Linked DNA regions of Homo sapiens: region 2 is linked to region 1. Evidence: promoter capture Hi-C in human tissues and cell types (Jung and others, 2019). All regions are on one chromosome and are shown on one strand. Each heading gives the region's core, a stretch centred on a gene start or on the middle of the fragment in contact. The rest is flanking DNA. Distances are from core to core; before and after follow the strand shown. Region 1 holds the start of ZNF665 (zinc finger protein 665). Region 2 overlaps ZNF813 (zinc finger protein 813).

Evidence for each region. The method cuts DNA at HindIII sites, captures the fragments that hold promoters and counts their contacts. A contact is called where the count stands out against the background at its distance.
Region 2: a fragment that was not itself captured here is called in contact with the fragment with the promoter of ZNF665 in region 1 in 1 of the 25 tissues and cell types used here (spleen).

Annotation. Positions count from the first base shown.
Region 1 is chr19:53,191,885-53,195,204 of GRCh38, forward strand. It overlaps ZNF665 (zinc finger protein 665), which reads right to left and starts at 1,474. Exons shown (of 4, transcript NM_024733.5): 1 at 1,428-1,474. RefSeq lists an enhancer at 1,290-1,439. The HindIII fragment of the contact is 23,654 bases long and covers 1-3,320 here.
Region 2 is chr19:53,492,558-53,495,877 of GRCh38, forward strand. It overlaps ZNF813 (zinc finger protein 813), which reads left to right. Exons shown (of 4, transcript NM_001004301.4): 4 at 1-3,320. It also overlaps the pseudogene RPL39P37. Among named protein-coding and RNA genes, the nearest start is that of ZNF813, 26 kb to the left of the region's middle. RefSeq lists an enhancer at 1-725. The HindIII fragment of the contact is 8,734 bases long and covers 1-3,320 here.

The DNA of each region.
Region 1 (3,320 bases), core at 224-2,723:
ATATCACGATGTAATTATCCATATCCAATGAAACCACCATGCATCTGGGCCATAGTCCCCCTCTTTCTTCCTTCCTGTGTGTTTCCCTCCCTCATTCTGTACATCTCTCTCATTCTCTTCTTCTCTCTCCTTGTTTCTTTTCTGTGTTTCAGCCTGGGTCTCTGCTCCTCATTTTGAGCCCCTCTCTTCTCCTGCTGTTTCTCCTTCCCTCTATCCTTCTCTTCCACTTGTTCTGTTCCATTCTTGCAACTTGTTTCACCTCTTATTCCTCTTTCACCCGTCTTTTGGTTGTCCCCAATCTCCATCTATTTCTGCCTCTTTCTTCCCTTATCTCTGCTCTCCCTGTTAAATCCCCTCTTCCCTGTTTCACTTCCTTGTCCCCACTCTTTGGCACCCCCAGATCCCAGGTCTCCCCCTGCTGTGGTTCTCCCTCTGCTCTCCTTGTCACCAGCTGCCCCTTCTTGCTGTCCCAGCACCACGCTGCTCTGTCTATCCTGGCTCCAAATACCCCCTCCTCTCCCTAACTCTCCGTCTGAGGAGCTGCCCCTCTCCCTACCTTGCTGTCCTTCATCTCTCTAGACAGCGAGCTTTTCTCTACATTTCTCCAGTTGTTTCTCCATCCTGTTACTTTCTCAGCGACTTCTTTCACCCTTACTGTCTCTTTGTAAATCCTGACCCATCCTCTACTTTGCCATGTTTACTGGTTTCCCTCATTCTTTCCTCTGTCTCCGTTTTTCTACTTTTCTCTCAGCCCCCCTCTCTGTCTCCTGATCCCCTTGGCCCACACATTCACAGGGAGGGTTTGGAGTAAGACACCTGGATCCTGGAGGAGCACATTTTCCAGCGGGTGGAGCTGGGCAGGCAAGAACACCGGGTATCACAGGACAAGGCCCGGGCACCTCCCCAACGCGGGCTCAGGGGAAACGGTGACTGCGAAGGGGAGGCCTAGGGAGCAGCAGGGCCCGGCACGAGGAGGAGGGAGGTGGGGGGCGACGGCGCCTTAGGAGAGGGGTGGGGTATGCAGGATCCCAGGACCAGGCAGAGGCGCGGCCTCCCCGGGACTGGGGCTGCGGCGCTAACGCTCCAGTAGCTGACTAGGGCGAGGTTAGGGGACGGTAAAATCCTGCACCCACTTCGCAGATGAGGACTTCACAGGGCGCAGGTCAGTAAAGGGTTTTAAGCAGGAAACGGCGCAGGAAAGGAGGTGTCTGCATGGTCTGAAGGCCGAAAGACCGCGGGCAGGACCAGCCTGTGTGATTTTAACCCAAAGCGATGCGACCCCCAGAGTCTCGCGGCAAAGTCTGAATTTACATGGAATGGAGGGAGCCGTGCGGGGACTTTAAGGGCTATACGAACCCCCGGACATCGGGTACGGAGGAGCAGGGGACTCCGAAACGCAGGTTTAATCTAGATAGAGGGAAACTCACGCGGCGACTAACAGCCTTCACTCCAAGAGATCTGCTTCCGGGTTTGCAAGAAACTGCCCGCGCAGTAGGCAAAGGGGCGGGTTGCGGTGGGGAAAGGCCAGGCGTTGGGAGGGACTGAGAGCATAGGGTGGGCGGGGCCGGGGCGGGGCCTGAACCCTGGAGGCGGAGGTTGCAATGAGCCGATATCGCGCCATTGCACTCCAGCCTGGGTGACAGAGTGAGACTTCGTCTCTCCCAAAAAAAAAAAAAAACAAAACTTAGGCTATCTAAAAGTTTAACCAATGGCCAGTAATATAAGCAATCATGCATATGTAATGAAGGCGCCATAACAACCCAAAAGGAGAGGATTCAGCGGAGCTTCTGGATAGGTGAACACTGGGAGGCTCCTGCAGCGTGGTGCACCCAGGGAGGGCACCAAGGCTCAACGCCCCTTCTCCCATGCCTCACCTCACTGATCCCTTCCATCTGGCTGTTCTTCTGTCAACTTTGTAATATCCTTTATAATACGTAAATCTATGTAAAGTGTTTCCCTGTATTTTGTGAGCCACTCTAGCAAATTCGTTGAACCTGAGGAGGGGGTCAAGGGACTCCTGGATTTATATCTGATCTGTAAGCACAAGTCACAACCTCTGCTTGAGACTGGCATTGAAATGTGTGCACTATTGTGGGACTGAGCCCTCAACGTGTGGGATCTGATGCCATGTCCCGGCAAAATGGAACGGAATGAGAGAACACGCACCTGGTGTCTGTGGCAGGATTGCTTGCTTGGTGTGTGTGGGAAAACCCAGTACCTCTGGGCTAACTGTAGCATTCTGTGTTGTGAGAGAACAGTAGAAGAAACTGAATCAGTGTTTCCTATATTCTTAAATACGAATATGTGAGGTTTGTTGTTGTTTTTTTTTTTTTTTTTTTTTTTTTAGACAAGAGTCTTGCTCTTGTCGCCCAGGCTGGAATGCAATGGCATGATCTCGGCTCACTGAGCCACCGCCCCAGCGTGAAGGCATTTTTGAGCAAGTTATGTCTCCCTAATTCTGTTTTATTGTACTTTTCCCTAAGTAGTTATAATAGCCTCTAAATCTGTGTGGAGTTTTCAGTTTTGTGGACAATACAATAAATAGACAAATAAAAACCCAAACACAAGCTGATCTCTATAGAAGTGTTAGATATTATTTTCAACACACTAAGTGATACTCCGTATCTAGATAAGCTAAAGCACGAATGATGTCTTCTGAGGTGACAAGGTCCACAGTGGCTTTACAGAAACACTGGCCAGAAGTAAAAACTGTGATGATAATGGCAATAGCAATGACTGACTTTTCTGAACACTATGTGCAAGGCATTATTCGGAATACTTTACCTGTATTAACTCAAATAACAACATAATAGCCCATGAGAAAAAGATCTTTTCCTATCTTACTAGGAAACAACTGTGTCGGCCGGGCGCTGTGGCTCACGCCTGTAATCCCAGCACTTTGGGAGGCCGAGCTGGGCGGATCACGAGGTCAGGACCGGATCACGAGCCGGGCGGATCACGATGGTCACCAGGAGACCATCCTGGCTAACACGGTGAAACCCCGTCTCTAATGATAATACAAAAAAATTAGCCGGGCGTGGTGGCGGGCGCCTGTAGTCCCAGCTACTCTACTCGGGAGGCTGAGGCAGGAGAATGGCGTGAACCCGGGAGGCGGAGCTTGCAGTGAGCCGAGATGGCGCCCCTGCACTCCAGCCTGGGCGAGAGCAAGACTCCGTCTCAAAAAAAAGAAAAAGAAAGAAACTGTCACAGATACGCTAAGAAACTGGCCTAAGGTCCAAGAGCTAGAAATGACAGAGCAAGCCCCGAACCCAGGCATCTAAGAATTACAGTTAGGCTGAGAGCAGTGGCTCACACCTGTA
Region 2 (3,320 bases), core at 371-2,870, 300 kb after region 1:
CTGGCAAAGCCTTAATGAGCAGTCAACACTTACTCACCATCAGGCAATCCATGGTGAAGGAAACTTGACTAATGTAATGATTGTCACCAAGTCTTCAGTAACGCTACAACCATTGCAAATCATTGGAGAACCCATAAGGAAGAGAGATCATACAAGTGTAATAATCGGCAAATTTTTCAGACATCGTCCATACCTTGCAGTTCATTGGCGAACTCATACTGGAGACAAACCTTATAAATGTCATGATTGAGGCAAGGTCTTCAGTCAAGCTTCATCCTATGCAAAACATAGGAGAATTCATACAGGAGAGAAACCTCACGTGTGATGATTGTGGCAAAGCCTTTACTTCACGTTCACACCTCCTTAGACATCAGAGAATGCACACTGGACGGAAATCTTACAAATGTCATCAGTGTGGCAAGGTTTTCAGTCTGACTTCACTCCTTGCAGAATATCAGAAAATTCATTTTGAGATAATTGTTCCAAATGCAATGAGTAGAGCAAACCATCAAGCAGTAATTGACATTAAAGTGTTTATGTTAAGAGGATTGGGCCAGGTACAGTGTCTCACACCTGTAATCCCAGCACTTTGGGAGGCCAAGGCGGGTAGATCACTTGAGGTCAGGAGTTTCAGATCAGTCTGGCCAACAAACATGAGCCACTTTTCCCAGTTTGCTTTTTGTTCTTTAACAAAAACTGATAGGGATTTTTATGGGTACCGTGTTGAATCTAAATCACATTGGGTTATATAATCATTTAACAATATTAATTTTTCCAATCCATCAATATGGGTTATATGTCTGTATATGTTTTTAATCATATTGATGTATATTTGTAGATTTCAAGGTACAAACTTCTCACCTTTTTACTTTTATTTCTATTTCTTTAAGTTCTCTAGCAAATGGAAGTGTTTTTAAATTTTCTTTTAAAATTGTTTATTGTTACAAACTTCTCATCTTTTTGCTTTTATTCCTAAGTATTTCTTACTTTAAGTTCTCTAGCAAATGGAAGTGTTTTTAAATTTTCTTTTAAAATTGTTTATTGTTAATGTATGGAAATTCAGCTAATTTTTGGTGCTGATATTGTACTGTGCAGATACACTGAATCTGTTTATTACTTCCAGTAGTATTTTGGTTGAGTCTTTGTGATTTTCTACACAGAAGATCATGTCATCTACAAACACATATAATTTTACTTCTTTCTTTCTGATTTGGATGGGTTTGATTTCTTTTGCTATTTCATTGCTCTGGCTAGGACAGCCAGTATTTATTGAATAGAAGGGGTGAGAGCATTCTTCCATCATGTGAGATCCTACAGGAAAATCATTCCATGTTCCCTGCTTCGTTATCTACTCGTTGGTCATTTCATGGATGGCCTTTCTATTGTTGAGGTAAATTTCCTTTTCTGTCTATTTTGTTCAGAATTTCTATGATGAGTGGATTTTGAATTTTGTGAAATACTTTTTCTCCATCTATTGAGATGATGTGGTTTTCATCTTTCATTCTGTTCAAGTGGCATATCACATTGATTTGCTTGACTATGTTGAACCATCCTTGCATCCCAGAAATAAGTGGCACTTGAGTATCTACAGTCCTTTTTACATCCTCTTGAATACAGCTTTTTAGTACAAGGGGTCTTCAAGAAGTTCATGGAAAAATACATATTTTGCATATTATGAGAAAATTGTGTATGAATTTCCCAGTTTTTGCACCAAAATAAACTGGTACGAATCTGTTATGTCTGAACAGGTCCTAGTTTGAGGCACCCAGAAGGATAAGACATGAGTTTTAAAAGAGACTTTCTCTGCCGGGCGCAGTGGCTCATGCCTGTAATCCCAACACTTTGGGAGGCCAAGGTGGGTGGATCACCTGAGATCCAGAGTTCGAGACCAGCCTCACCAACATGGAGAAACAGCATCTCTACTAAAAATACAAAATTAGCCAGGCATGGTGGCAAATGCCTGTAATCCCAGATACTCTGGAGGCTGAGGCAGGAGAATGGCTTGAACCCGGGAGGCAGAGATTGCTGTGAGCCGAGATTGCACCATTGCACTCCAGCCTGGTCAACAAGAGCGAAACTCTGTCTCAAAAAAAAAAAAAAGAAAAGAAAAGAAAAGAGACTCTATCAAAGCAATATAAATCCTGCTAAAATTGAAACAAAAAGGAGCATCAAATTTACAGTGAGACCAGATGCAGTGGCTCAGGCCTGTAATCCCAGCACTTTCAGAGGCCAAGACAGGTGGGTCATGTAAGCCCAGGTATTCAAGACAAGCCTGGGCAACATGGTGAAACCCCCTTGTCTACAAAAAATACAAAAATTAGCTGGGCACGGTAGCACATGCATGCAGGGCCAGCTGCTGTGGAGTCTGTGGTAGGAGGATAGCTCGAGCCTGGGAGGTTGAGGCTGCAGTGAGCTATGATCATGCCACTGCATTCCAGCATGGGTGATGGAGCGAGATACTGGCTCAAAAAAAAAAATACTTCTTGTAAAGTTTGGGTAGAGGAATAATGAAATCATTGATGCTTTATGAAAAGATTATGGAGATGATGCCCAGAAGAAATAAACAGTTTGTAAATGGATAACTTAGTTTGAGTTGGGACAAGACAATGTTGAAGGTGATGCATGGAGTGGCAGGCACACCATCCACATCAGTTTTTTTGTTTGTTTTTGTTGTTGTTGTTTTTTTGAGATGGTGTCTCGCTCTGTCTCCCAGGCTGGAATGCAGTGGTGCAATCTCGGCTCACTGCAACCTCTGCCTCCCGGGTTCAAGTGATTCTCCTGTCTCTGCCTCCTTAGTAGCTGGGACTACAGGCGCGTGCCACCACATCAGCTAATTTTTGTATTTTTAGTAAGACGGGGTTTCACCATGTTGGCAAGGCTGGTCTTGAACTCCTGACCTCACGATCTGCCCACCTCAGCCTCCCAAAGTGTGGAGATTACAGGCATGAGCCACCATGCCCCTTGCACATCAGTTTTACAAAAAAATTTATCTTGTTTGTGCCACAATGAAGAGGACTGACAGGTAACAGCAGAAACAATAGTCAGGAGTTTGAGAACAGGCTGATTAACATGGTGAAACCCCGTCTCTACTAAAAATACAAAAATTAGCTGGGTGTGGTGGCGGGTGCTTGTAATCCCAGTTACTCAGGAGGCTGAGGCTGCATTATCGCTTTAACCTGGGGGGCGGAGGTTGCAGTGAGCCAAGATGGGGGCAATAAGAGCAAAACTTTGTCTCAAAAAAAAATAAATAAATAAAAAATAAAATATGTCAAGCCCCTTCTCTTCCTGTCTCCTCTCGTGGTGTGTACTTGACTCCCCTT